3 separate regions of the Homo sapiens genome follow, and all the other regions are linked to region 3. Evidence: promoter capture Hi-C in 16 types of primary human blood cells and fetal thymus (Javierre and others, 2016). All regions are on one chromosome and are shown on one strand. The core of a region is centred on a gene start or on the middle of the fragment in contact, and the rest is flanking DNA. Distances in the headings are between cores, read along the strand shown. Region 1 overlaps LOC105373436 (a long non-coding RNA gene). Region 2 overlaps LOC100506474 (a long non-coding RNA gene). Region 3 holds the start of E2F6 (E2F transcription factor 6).

The links. Contacts are between HindIII fragments. The CHiCAGO score rates a contact against its expected background, and 5 or more counts as called.
Region 1: a contact is called between a fragment that was not itself captured here and the fragment with the promoter of E2F6 in region 3, in 3 of 17 cell types (total B cells, naive B cells and total CD4 T cells). The highest score is 13.2, in total B cells.
Region 2: a fragment that was not itself captured here is called in contact with the fragment with the promoter of E2F6 in region 3 in 2 of 17 cell types (naive B cells and total B cells); the score reaches 9.4 in naive B cells.

What each region holds. Positions count from the first base shown.
Region 1 is chr2:13,015,225-13,019,772 of GRCh38, forward strand. The region is part of intron 1 of LOC105373436 (a long non-coding RNA gene); the gene reads left to right. Among named protein-coding and RNA genes, the nearest start is that of MIR3125, 280 kb to the left of the region's middle. The HindIII fragment of the contact is 1,753 bases long and covers 1,845-3,597 here.
Region 2 is chr2:12,994,654-12,999,705 of GRCh38, forward strand. The region is part of intron 4 of LOC100506474 (a long non-coding RNA gene); the gene reads right to left. Among named protein-coding and RNA genes, the nearest start is that of MIR3125, 260 kb to the left of the region's middle. The HindIII fragment of the contact is 336 bases long and covers 1,523-1,858 here.
Region 3 is chr2:11,463,094-11,467,814 of GRCh38, forward strand. E2F6 (E2F transcription factor 6) reads right to left here and starts at 3,068. Exons shown (of 7, transcript NM_198256.4): 1 at 2,679-3,068. The coding sequence starts at 2,786. RefSeq lists enhancers at 2,262-2,819, 2,820-3,376, 3,804-3,883. The HindIII fragment of the contact is 15,644 bases long and covers 1-4,721 here.

The DNA.
Region 1 (4,548 bases), core at 1,471-3,970, 1.6 Mb after region 3:
AGAGAGAAGCAAAATTGAAAAATTAATGTTAAAACTGACATTAAAAACTTCTATTTTTAAAGGTGAATTAAAGTCTTAAAGGAATCTGAAAGTACAGTGAAAAGAGATTGAAATAATATGGTAGTGTAAACTCAAAATATCAATATACTGTGATAGAAAGGACAAAGAATTTGGAGTTACTGAGACTGTAAGTTAAAGCCTGCTCTTATCTGTTAACTGGGACATGATACTTGAGTCTTAGTGCCCTCATTTGTACTGATAACAGTTTATTATCTTTTCATTTTTTTCAGATTTGAATAAGAGACCATAAGTAAATTTCCTGAGACAGGATCTCAAATCAATTTTTTAAAAATCACAATTATATATTACTCTGAACATACAATAAGAGGGCTCCGAAGCAAATTTCCTAACAGTGAAAAATTGGTTTGATTTGGTCTTTGAAATTGCCAGCTGCTGTCAGAGCATTCTGGTCCTTGAACAAACACGCATAAAGTGTTTTCCCTGGTGCTAGGAAGTGTTCATTGAAAAACAGCTGTTGGCATCTGAATACATTACATATGATGCTAACAAGACCTTACTTTTGTATAATACTTTACACTTCTTTTAAAGCACTTTGTTTAATTTCATCTACAAAGGAAAGGCATTATTTCCCTCTCTAACAAATTTAGAAATGGATACATCCATTAAGGGGTAATGCAATTTCCCAGTCAAGAAACAGTTTAAGTATTTGTTAGACTGTCTTGATGTCACAGTTTCTGGCTTTTAGAATTGTGTTCCAGGGTAGTGTGACAGAGGCTTGTGGTTGGATAATATTGTGGGGAGAGATTCCCTAGTACTCAGAACCTTTCTAAATGCAAGACAATGGATGACCCTCTGAAAAATGGGATTAGACCATGAGAGCCAAAGTAAATCACTCTGAGACACAGCAGGTCTCCACTACAATGGCTCTCTGAGAACTGAAGGCAGAGCAGTGAGATTGAGAGAAGTCTCTTGATACACAGAAAGCTAGTGGAGAAAATATAAAGCAAAGAAAATTGCATGGTAAGCAAACAGCTGGCAAGCAGAAGATAGAGGTGAATAAGTATTTTCTATCAGCCTTCAAGGCTGATAGCTAAGGCGAAAAAACAAAGAAATCTCCAGAATCTTGTTGGGATAATCGCAATGTCATGCCAAGTGAAAAGTTTAATTCTGCCTTTGAAATATTTGAAATGATTTGAGAACTAGTCAGTGCTGCAGCAAAGCTCAGACCTAGCTTCAGTGCAGATTAGATTCACCTAGCCACTGCCTTGACAACCTAACAGACGGTCATGTACTTCTTTGGAAGATAAATATTATTTTCTTCAGGTCTGTACTGTTCTCTTACATATAATCCTTAGCACACAGATATAAACAATGAGAAAAGCAAAAGAGATGACAATTGCAACCCACAATTAAGATAAAATATAGTCAAGTCAATACAAGCAGGACCAGAGTTGGACTAGAGGCAAGAATGATCAAACAATGATGTTGAAATCATCAAGATAATTACTTTAACAAATACAGTGGGGAAGAAAGACAAGAGTGAAGAAATAGGTAATTTCAGCATATCCATGAAAATATTATTCATAAAATTAAAACACTAGGAATGGAGAACCCAATATCAGAAATAAAAAGGTCATTGGGTGGGCTAAAGAGCAGACAGGACATGAAAGGAGAACATACTAGTGAATTTGAAGACCAGTCATGATAACATCTGAGAAGGTAGTACCTAAGAAATTTCGAAATTGAAAGATAACAACCCCCAAATCCAAGCAGTTGACCCAAGCACAATAAATACAAAAAAAAAAAAAAAAATACCCAGGAAAAGCTTAGTCAAAACTCGGGGGGAAATGCAAGATATAGAAATAGTCTTAAAAGCAGCCAGAAAGGAAAAATAAAAACACGAAAGAAGACAGCTTACATAAAAGGACAAATAATAAGAGTGATAGCTAAATTATCGTAAGAAATCATCATGAATAGAAGACAATTGAATGGTATGTTTAAAATGCTGAGAAAAAAATGAACTTTCAGCCTAGGACTTATATAGTGAGAATATCTTCCATAAATATATAAAGAAATATAAGTTTAAAACAGAAACACACTACAGTTGACCCTTCAACAACATTGATTTGAACTCTGTGGGTCCACTTATACGTGGATTTTTTTCAATAAATAATTTGAAAAATTTTGGAGATTTGTGACAATTTGCAAAAACTTGCAGACTAACCACGTAGCCTAGAAGTATAAAAATAAATTAAGAAAATGTTAGGTATGTCATTAATACATAAAATACATGCAGATACTAGTCTACTTTTTCATTTGCTACCATAAAATAGTACATAAATCTATCATAAAAAGTTAAAATTTATCAAAACTTAAACACACAAATGCTTGTAAACCATACATGGCACCATTTGCAGTCAAGAGAAATGTAAAGAAGTGTAAAGATGAAGAATCAAATTCTGACTGCATAAAATTAAGTGTAATAATACTGTACTACGGTAATCATTTCATAGCCACCTCCTGTTGTTGTTGTGGTGAGCTCATGTTACATCTGCATAGAATGCCATACTATGCTAAAAACCTCCACCTGAGCAGCTCATCACTCCAGTAAATTGTGTACCACGGTAAAAAGTGAGTTCTCACAGTTCTTATGTATTTTTCATCATGTTTAGTGCAATCCTATAACCTTGAATTACACCATGGGACCCCATACAAAGTGCCTCCAAGAAGCCAAGAAAAGTCATGGCATTACAAGAAAAAGTTGAATTGCTTGATATGTACCATAGATTGTTGTCTGCTATTGCGGTTTCCTACCATTTAAAGATAAATGAATCCAGCATAAGGACTGAAGCTGTTGCTGCAGCTATGTCAACAGGTGCAAAAATCTTGTACTTTTTGTGAAATATCCTTTTATATCATATTGAAAATGCAGCTTTTATGTGGTGCAGGATTGCCATAAGCAAAGCATACCTATAGATTTGAATATGATTCTAGGAAAAGCAAAGTCATTATATGGTAACTTAAAGCAAAAAAAAAAAAATAAAAATAAAAAGGTAAAAGATCTAAAGTTAAATAATTTAATGCCAGAAAGGGATGGTTTGATAATTTTGAAACAGATTTCAGCAAAAAAAAAGTCAAGATAACAAACAAAACAGTTTATGCTGACCAAGAGACAGCAGACAAGTTCCCAGATGTTATTAAGAAAACCATTGAGGAGGAAGGATGTTGGTCTGAACAGGTTTTTTTATGAGGATGAAATTGCTCAACCTGGAAAAAAAATTGGCACAAAGGACATTTATTAGTAAGGAAGAGAAATGGGCACTAAGATTTAAAGCAGGAAGGGATAACTGACCTCTAATATGTTGTGCAAATGCCGCTGGGTTTCTGATGAGGACTGCTCTTATCTGTAAAGCTGCTAACCCCTGAGTCTTGAAGAACAAAGATAAACACCAGCCGCCAGTCTTCTGACTGTACAACAAGTTGGCCTGGACAATCAAAACTCCTTCTTAACTGGTTCCATTGATGCTTTGTCCCTAAAGTCAGGAAGTACCTTCCTAGTAAGGGATTGCCTTTTAAAGCTTTTGATAATAGATCATGCTTCTTGCCATCCAGAAGCCCTAGAGGTCAACACTGAAATCACTGAAGTGATCTACTTGTCCCTAAACACAGTGTTTCTAATTCAGCCTCTAGATCGGGAGGTCAGAAGGACTGTTAATGCTCATTACACATGGTACTCTATGGAAAGGATTGTCAATGCTGTGGAAGGGAACACTGATAGAGAAAACATTATGAATGTCTAGAAGGGTCACACCATTGAAAATGCCATTATTGCTATGGAAAAATTCATGAAAGCCATCAAGCCCAAAACAATACATTTCTATGGGAGAAAACTGGGTCCAGGTGTTGTGAATGACTTCACTGGGTTTACAACAGAGCCAATCAAAGAAATAATGAAAGAGATTATGCATATGGCAAAAAAAAAAAAGGTGGGTGTGAAGGGTTTCAAGGTATAAGTCTTGAGAGAAATTCAAAAGTGAAAAGATACCACACTGGAGGAATTAACAGAAGACAACTTGGATGGAGTTGAGTGCTTCTGAACCAGTATCAGATGATGAGGAGGGAGATGGAAAAAACAGTGCAGAAAACAAATTGTTATTAGACAATCTGGAAGAATCATTCTGATTATTCAAGACTACTTTGAAATGCTTTTACAGCATAGATAGACCCTTGTAGGATATGGGCACTGAGACTACAACAAATGGTGGGGGAAGAATTGGTACCATATAGAAATATTTGTAGATAAATTAAAAAGCAAAAATGTTGACAGAAATTATGATGTATTTCCATAAAGTTACACCACGTGCCTCTCTCTCCTGTCTCTTCCTTCTACCTCTTCAGCCTCTACCAGTTCTAAGACAGCAAGACCAAAACCTCTCTTCCTTTTTCTCAGCCTAGTCAACGTGAAGATGAGAATATAGACTTTCATGATGATCCACTTTCACTTAATAAATAGTAAATATATTTTCT
Region 2 (5,052 bases), core at 441-2,940, 1.5 Mb after region 3:
TCACCAGTGAGGTAATAGGAAAATAAGACAAAGAAGGAAAGCAGTCAGTAATGGATGGATTAGTGAACATGCTACCGCTGTTGGTTTTGAAAGCTTAACCTAACTGTGGAGCTCTGGGGTCCAGTGTAGAACACATGCATTTGAGTTGTCCAGTCTCAGAGGCAAGAGAGCCAGGATATCCATACACTAAATCCTGGGAGGGGGATTAGTTTCTTGGTATTTCCAGCCATTTGCACACAGGCGGAACAGATTCCAGCAACCAGAGATAGTCTCCAGGCAGAAAGATACAGGCTTAGATGCTTGAAAAAGTGTTTCAGGCTGTGGCAATTATAAGGACTTAGGGGATATTGATGGAGGATTCACATAGTCAGCTACGTAACATTTTCATGCCTCTGTGTCTTCCTAAGGCTATCCCATTTGCTTGGGTGCTATCTTGCCCGTGCCTTCGATACCCAACTAATTTCTTCTCATTCTTCCTTTGTTAGTTTGAACATAAATTATTCTTTATGCTTTCTTTGGCCTCCCAAATCTGTGCTAGTCACCTCTTCTGGTGACTAGCACAGATTTGGAAAAAAAAGGTATATACCCTTTTTTCCACTATCTTAGTTAGAATTTATTACACCAACAGGTTAGTGAAGAGAATGTGATAAGTAGATACACATAAAAATATTGTCATAGAGTTATTGGAAGTAGATGGGTTGTTCATGATTAGAAATATCCAAGAAAGCTCACTGGGAGGCACAATATTTAAATTGATCCTTGGGAATAAAAAGAAATAAACTTTTAACAAAGACACTGAGGTAGTTCAGGCTTATTGGTGAAATGGTAGACATAACAGTATGACTGGGATACAGATGTCATAACAAAATGTAGAGGGAGACCCAGTTCCTAATACCAGCATGATAATGTGAGCCTACAAGCCATGTCAGATTTGGGCCATGTAAATATTTGATGAGAGAAATTGATAAGTACAACAGCAAAACAATGACAAAGTCACATACATGCATACACAGCAAAGATACTATGTATCTTAATTGTCCTAAACATGCTAAGGAAATTGTAGGTGCAGAATTGACCTTTTTAGTTTATATGACTGCTTATTATTCTTCATCAGGCAAACTGTTGTGGTGTCCAAAGACTTAAAAGTGAAATGACTTTAAAGAGCAAAAAGGTTTTGTTCTATACAAATGCATTGCAAATCACTTATTGTAGATCTATATTAGCTCAACTGTTTTAGGCTTTCAGGAATCATAAAACATTAACACATAAAGATCTTATGGTCTCTGATTTATAAAATATATTTCATCATATACTTCTACACTGAATGTTTAATTATATTTATTATGAAAAGATATGACTTTTTTGTGTAATTAAAATCATTGTATGTGTATAGTAGAAATGTAATTATAACAATTATATTACATAAAGAGAAATATTATAAAAAAGAGACAATTAGGTATTTTGCTCAAACAAATTAAATTTCACAACTATATGTGATACATAATTACCAGTTACTCTTAAAAGCTTTTACTGACAGTGTGTGTCTCAAAATAGAATGCAGCCTAAAACTCTAGCCTAGATTGAAGTGTGGTTGTTTTAAGACTTAGAGAGGAAAGAACCAATAATAATGTTGACCTCTTGCCATGTAGTAGAATTAAGTAGAACACATGTGAGTCTCAGGATGTACCTCAGAGCTGAGAGAAATACAGGTTCATAAACACATGTGGGAAAGAAGTACTTCAGCAGAAGGCTGGATGGTGTCTGGGCAGTCAGGTGGATTCAGAGGATGGCTGGGCTTCCCTGGAAATTATCAGCATTTTCTTTGTAAGGGAGCTTGAAATTCTGGGTTTTATACTTAAGCTTACTGAGAAATAAGTTCCTGAAGATACATATTCAGAAAAAAATCAAGGAAGTAAAACTCACCTTCTACATTTGCTTTACTTTTAATGTAGAACCTGCAGATTATTATTGGATTCTTTTATTATTATTTTATTTGTTTATAATATTTGGTCTTAGATTATTAATTGATTTACTTTTATGAATTTATTTATAATAGTCTTGATTTTTCCAAGAAATATATAAAACAACTTAAATTATTAAGGCATATGAAAATTGGAAATAAGCAAGTTGTAGAAAGGGAAATTCAGAGGAAATTTAGCCAAAATAACTTCTCTAGAAGATCAGAAGTTGTTACTACAACCAAAGAGCGCTTTTAATCTTTGTACCCAGGAAGCTAAATCAGAAAAAGAACATTCAAAGCTGTGTGATCTTCAGCAATTTAGTCAAAGTCTTTAAGAACCATTTTTTTAAGTATGAAAATGGAGTTAATAAAACATCCGTACCATATCTGGTAGTTGTGAGGATAAAATGAGAGAATGTGTGAGTCTTGGCACGTTACATGGGAAATGCCAAAAGCTCAAATATTAGCCTATGTCTTCCTCCTTCTACTCTTTTTCCTTCCCTACTTCTTCTTGCTAATCCTCCTCTGCCTCTTTTTAGCCCATCTTCTTTTCCCTCTTCCCAACTTATTTTATTATTAAGAAAATTTAGTTTTCCTTGGGAGGCCGAGGTGGGTGGATCACGTGGTCAAGAGATTGAGACCATCCTGGCCAACATGGTGAAACCCCCCATCTCTACTAAAAATACAAAAATTAGCTGGGGGTGGTGGCACACACCTGTAGTCCCAGCTACTGGGGAGATTGAGGCAGGAGAATCACTTGAACTCAGGAAGTGGAGGTTGCAGTGAGCTGAGATCGTGCCACTGCACTCCAGCCTGGCGACAGAGCAAGACTCCATCTCAAAAATAATAATAATAATAATAATTATTATTATTATTATTTTCCAGCAAGAAATGAAAAGAAAAAATATTCATTGAGGAAATATTTTAAATCAATTACTATCTAGACACTAGAGATACACCAATAGTAAGTTATCTATTTTTATGGAGTTTATATTCTTCCTTACAACAAAAGTCATAATATTGTTTACAAAGGCTTTGTGAGGAATACATAAGTTAATGGATGTGCAGGGAACAGCACAATACCTGACTGTTGTTATCATTATTAATAACATAGACCTTATCATTATTATCAATATTACACTAGCATTAGTAATTGTAATAATAATAGTTGTAGTTATAGTTGAAGTGATCGCAGTTGTCATTATATTCATTGTAATAGTCATTGTCATCATTGTAGTGGTCTTTCTAATTTCAATGACACGAATATTATACCAGTGTACATTTCAGGAATGACTAAAGAGTTAATTGTAGACAAACTATTTCACACAACTCGGATAATGCTTAGACAGTAACTAACTCTAATGGAAAATTCCAAGTACTAAGCCACTGCCATATGATACTCTAGAGTTTTTACAAGTGGGCAACATTCGTGATCTAAATTCTGAAGACTTCCAACAAGAAGGACATATTGGTCACCAGAATGTGCGTGTGTGTTTGTGTGCATGCATGTGTGTGTGCATGTGTGTGTGTTTCATTGACTTTGTATAACCAAGGAAAAGGCAGCTTCCTTTACTCCTTGAAAACAGTGATAAGAAGTTGTTCTATGGGTGTTATTCCAATAACAGCTTATTTCTGATTATAATTATTTCTCTCTTTTACTGATGGCAAATTTATTTCCCACATAATGTTGATTCTCAATTTCCTTTTGTACATGATTCCCCCAAATTTAGCTGAGACTGGTTTCTTTGGAAATATTAGTGTCACCAGTTCCCCATGCTCTGTCAAAATGAAACAAAAACAAATTAAAATGACTACTGAACAAATATTCAATGTACTATATATGATATATATGTTATATATCCATTCCCATGATCCAAATGCCTCCCACCAGGCCCCACCTCCAGCACTGGGGATTATAATTCAACTTAAGATTTGGGTGGGGACAAATATTCAAACTATGTCAACCTCTGTTCCAGATTTTCTTCAAGGCAATTCTATGTCCTTATAAACACAAAGTCCTTTCTTAGACATAATTCTCATTTCTTTGCTTTTCGACCTCTTCCTATTCTTCTTCCAAACTTAATGGTGGCCACCTCAATGCTATCTGAAATGAGAGTTGGGAAGGCCATTGTGTGCATTAAAGGCTGCCCCCGATTGGAGTTATTTAGTTCAACTGCAAAGACTTACTGGACTCCAGTCACTAAAAATCTCTTTCAATCTTATGTGTTGCTATTTGGAGTCTGGTAGCAGCCTGCATTTTCAATGCTGTAGGACTCTGGACCTTTGGATTTTTTCCAGTTGTCTTGGATATCTACTTAAAAGTCAGGCAATACTTGCCTGAGCTCCCCTTTTTTTGTAATACTGTGCCAAATACAGTCAATAGAATTTGACAGTCACTGTGACTTTTTCCAACTACTTTCCCTGAGAGTTACAGAAATCAAGTAGTCTAAATTAAAGCAATTACTTACCAATGTTTGTCATAGAAAAACAAATATTTCCAGTCTTCTTGCCTAATATATATATATATGTGTGTGTGTATGTGTGTGTATATATATACACATACATACATATATATATATACACATACATACATACATATCTATACACATACATACATATATATATATCTGAGGCAGCCTTTAAACATATAAATAAATATATACGTGTATATATATGTTTGGCCAGAAGACTGCAGATATATATATATATACACACGCACACAATTGCCACCCACAAACCAATCACTAAGCCAAGGCCAAGGTGTCTATCTGTATAATAGTTGAGGGTAACATATGCTGCTGAAACAAATAAACCCCCAAACCTCAGTAGCTTAACATGATCAGTTTATTTTTCAGCCACCTAAAGTCCAATAAGTGATGGCTTTCTAATAGTAAACTAAAGACCTACCTAAGTATCTATTATTTATGTTTTCTACCATTCCCCAGCATAATAAAGTCCTATGAATCAGCCTGTGGGCAAAGGAGAGAGACAGGGGGTCTGTTTGTAGAAAGCTTTTATAACGCAGGCCTACAGGTTGTCCACATTACTTTTATCTACATTTTCATTGGTTAAATAAGTTACATGTGGTCATA
Region 3 (4,721 bases), core at 1,818-4,317:
GTGAGCTTAGAGTTTTTATCACGTTCTCAAATATTAAGACCACCAATACAGATGGTACCAATATACAGCTGACCCTCAAACAACACAGGTTTGAATTGTGTGGGTCCACTTAGAGACCAATTTTCTTTACCCGCTGCCACCCCTTAGAGAGCAAAACCAGCTCCTCCTCTTACTCTTGTTCATCAGCCCACTTAGTGTGAAGACAAGGATGAAGACCTTTACGATGACCTAATTCCCCCGAAGGAGTAGGATTTTCTCTTATTTATGATTTTCTTAATAACATTTTCTTTTCTTTAGCTACTTTACTATAAGAAAACAGTAACTAATACATATAAATACAAAATATGTGTCAATTAACTGTTTACGGTATCAGTAAGGCTTCCAGCAAACAGTAAAGTTTTGGGGGAATCAAAGTTATATTCAGATTTTGAATTTCATGGGATTTGGTGCCCCAATCCCTGAGTCGTTCAATGATCAAATGTAGATGGTAACAGAAGTCATGGGAGGAGTGAATGAACTCCCCTAAGAAGAATGTGTAGAGACGGTAGAAGAGAACCCTGAATAATACCAACATGTGGCCAGCTGCAGAGGCTCACGCCTGTAATCCCAGCACTTTGGGGAGCTGAGGTGAGAGGACTGCTTGAGCCCAGGAGTTCAAGACCAGCCTGGGCCCCATAGGAAGACTCCCATCTCTAAAAATAAAAATAATTAGCCAGGTGTGGTGGCATGTGCCTGTGGTCTCAGCTACTTGGGAGTTGGAGGCAGAAGGATCACTTGAGCCTGGGAGGTAAGGCTGCAGTGAGCCATGATGTGCCACTGCACTCCAGCCAGGGTGACAGAGTGAGATCCTGCACCGGGGGGGGGGACAAAAACAAAAACAGAAAAACAAATCAACATGAAGGAATGGGAAGAGGATGAGGACAAGGAGAAGCCAGAGAAGCAGATGGAGCATCAAACGTCAAGGAAGCTCAAGGGAGGGTTTCTAACACGAGTGTTGTAGTCAAAACTACAACAGCTGCTGGAATTGACGAGCTTGTCGGTGACCTTGGTTAGAATGGTCTTACAAGTGTGCTTAGGATAGGGGTCCCCAGCAGTGGGTTGGCTGGTAATAAGAGGCCATCAAGTGGAAACAGTGAGTGTAAATAACCTTTTCAAGAAGTTTAGCTGTGAAAGCACTTTGGGAGGCTGAGGCGGGTGGATCACGAGGTCAGGAGATTGAGACCATCCTGGCTTACACGGTGAAACCCCATCTCTACTAAAAATACAAAAAAAAATTAGCCGTGCGTGGTGGCGGGTGCCTGTAGTCCCAGCTACTCAGGAGGCTGAGGCAGGAAAATGGCGTGAACTCGGGAGGCGGAGCTTGCAGTGAACCGAGATCAGGCCACTGCACTCCAGCCTGGGTGACAGAGCAAGACTTCGTCACCAAAAAAAAAAAAAAAAAAAAAAAGTTTAGCTGTGAAGAGGAAGAGAGACAGTAGATGGGAGGGGATATGGAATCAAGGGAGAGATCTTTTAAGATGGGGATGGATTTAGAATGCGGTTTTAGTAGTCAAGAATTTATCATCTGGAGTTAGACATTTGGAGCTTCAACCCAAGTTTCTACACTTATTATCCAGCCACAGGCAAGCCGGCGTTACATGCATCTCCAAGTCTGTTTTGGCAACCGTGAAACAAGAATAATAATCTTTTAGTATTATAAAACACTGCTGTGAGAAATGAGAAATTAAATGAGGCAATAATCACAAACTATTTGGTAGGGGAACCAGGCATAATGACTTGGGAAAATGTTTAATTACTACTAGTTATAGAAAGAAAGCAGCAGAGAAATTGAAAATACGGGGAGAGGTCGGGCTCGGTGGATCACCTGAGGTCGTCAGGAGTTCGAGACCAGCCTGGCCAACACGGCGAAATCCCGTCTCTACTAAAAATACAAAATTAGCTGGGTGTGGTGGCGCATGCCTGTGATCCCAGCTACATGGGAGGCTGAAGCAGGAGAATCTCTTGAACCTGGGAGGTGGGGGTTGCAGTGAGCTGAGATTGCGCCATTGCACTCCAGCCTGGGGAACAAAAGTAAAACTCAATCTCAAAAAAAAAAAAAAAAAAGAAAAAAAAGAAAGAAAAGAAAAAGAAAATGCATTTGTTGAGGGCCCTGATAACCGCGGGGAATACAGCATCTGGTCCTGAACAAGAGAAGAAATCAGCCTTTGCAGGAAAGGGAGCCAAATTTCCTAACCATTTTCTCTGTCAAACAGGTGGGGAGATAATTTGATGAATGGGAGCTGTGGCGTGGGAAATATAAAGCGTGGACAAGGTTTTAAACGGCTGCAGTAGAGCAGAAGGATGGGAGAGGAGGCAGAAAAACAAATGATAGGTTGCAGAGATACAGCTAGAGTCCATAGAAGGAGATAAACATGGACTCTCTAATGCAAAGTTGAGCAATTTTCTCCAACAGTGCTCTGAAGTTCCGATGTAAAAGCCTAGAAGACTGATACCACGTCTGTGAGCAGATGCTGAAAGCAGAAGGCGGGAGAGCGCAGTTCGCAGCACGTGATGGGCAGCGCCTGGCCCAGGGGGAGCAGACGACCCAGACGACGGCCAGCGGGGTTGGCGGCGGCGCGGGGAGGAGGGGGCCGGATTTGGGAGACCACCGCCCGTCCCCGTCCCGTCCCGGAGCTTACCAGCAGGCCCTCCACGTTGATGGGGTCTCGGCACCGACGGCGAACCGTCTCCTCCGTCGGGTCCAGGAGGAGACTGGGTAACTTCCTCGCCGGCCGCTGCTGACTCATGCTGCCCGGCCGGGCGTCCTGCTCCCCTCGCACCCCACGAGCTCTCCCGCCCTCTCGCGCTCAGCTCGAGCACCGCCCCCCACGCGCCGATTTCCAAGGGCCCAGCACCTAAGGGGTCCGCGGCTTCCTCCGAGGCGCCGCCCGGCTAGGCCGTCCCGCCCGCCAGTAAACGCGGCACGGCCTCACGTGCCCGGGAGCTCCCGACGCAGACGGAAAAAGAGGAGGGAGACCCGCGGATCTCAAGTCGCCCGGCCCGCCATCTTCCCGCATGCGCAGTACACCGCCCCCCTCTGCGCATGCCCGCCGCTGCCGGAGCGCTCCCACGCACCGATCCTCTCCCGGCGGCTGCCGCCCGGGAAACCCGGACCGCGGAATCCACGGAGAGGCTGGCAAAGGAAAAGGAAGAGGTGGAGCCGAATTCCAGAGGAAGGGAACAGGGGTGAGAGAAAAGAGGCAACCGGGAAAACCCAGCGGTCGCCTGGAATTCTCGACGGTGATAACTGAAAGTTCTGAGGTGATAACTGAAAGTTCTGAGCCGCAGAGATGTTCATTTATTCCTTTTTTTTATTTTAATTTTTTTTTTGGTCGCCCAGGCTGGAGTGCAGTGGCGTGGTCAGGGCTCACTGCAGCCTTGAATTCCCGGGCTCAAGCGATCCTCCACCTCAGCCTCCCAAGTAGCTGGGACTACATGCGCGCGCCACTGTGCCTGGCTAATTTTTAATTTTAATTTTAGTAGAGACAGGGTCTCAGTATATTGCCCCGGCTGGTCCTGAACTCTGGGGCTCAAGCCGTCCTCCCACCTTGGCCTCTCAAGTGCTGGGATTATAGGCGTGAGCTACCACACCCAGCCTTCATTTATTCGTGAGCTCTGTTAGCGCATCTTACAGGCAGGTCAGTGTTGATGCTTAGTAAATGTGAGCAACCACACCATTGTGGAATCGTTTTACCTCTGCCTGCCCGCCTGCCTGCCTGCCTGCCTTCCTTCCTTCCTTCCTTCCTTCCTTCCTTCCTCCTTCCTGTTTGACGAATGAGTTATCGTTGACCTATAGTGTCAGATATTGGGGTGGGCACAGGCGATACTTATTCGTTTGAATATGCCACGGGTTCAACCTCCAATTTCAGTGGGGACAGATAAGTAAACAGAGCATGTTAATTTAGCTGGAGCCAGAAGGTGTGTTTTCAAGTCCTGGCTGCCTCTACGTATAAACTAGAAGACCTTATTAAGCCAGTTACTTAATCTGTCTGTGCCTCAGTTTCCTTATTTGGAAAATGCAAATAATGACAATACTTACCTGATAAGGTTGTTGTGAGGATTAAATGGATTAATGGATACAGGTTGCTGTGATTAGAACAGAGGCCAGCACATGTTTGAAATAAAAAGGCAACACACCGTGGTATGTACAGAGTTGGAGGGAAACAACTGGTTAGACTGGGGGTTTCTACACAGCCTGAGGTGGGCGAGGTGAGGCAGGGAAAAATCCCCGAAGAAGCTGGTTCCCCACTAGACTGTGAGGTCAGAGGCCTTCTCTAATCTTTTTTTTTTTTTTTCTGTCACCCAGGCTGGAGGGCAGTGTCACGGTCATAATTCACTGTAGCGTCAAACTCCTGGCCTCAAGTGATCTCCCAGCTAAGACTCCCAAGTAGCTGAGAGTACAGGTGCATGCCACCATGCCTGGCTAATTTTTTTTTATGTTTTATTTTATTTTATTTTTTGAACTCCTTACCTTAAGCAATCCTCCTGCCTCAGCCTCCCAAGGTGCTGGAGTTATAGGCGTGAGACACCCATGCCTGGCTTCTAATCTTTGTATCTCTATCATCTAGCAAAGTGTCTGGCAAATAAAACATGCTCTATTAATGTTTGCTAAATAAACGATGAGAAAAAAAGAGAACGTAGCGGAGGTCTCGAGAAGACTGCATATTGTTGCAGAATGGAGA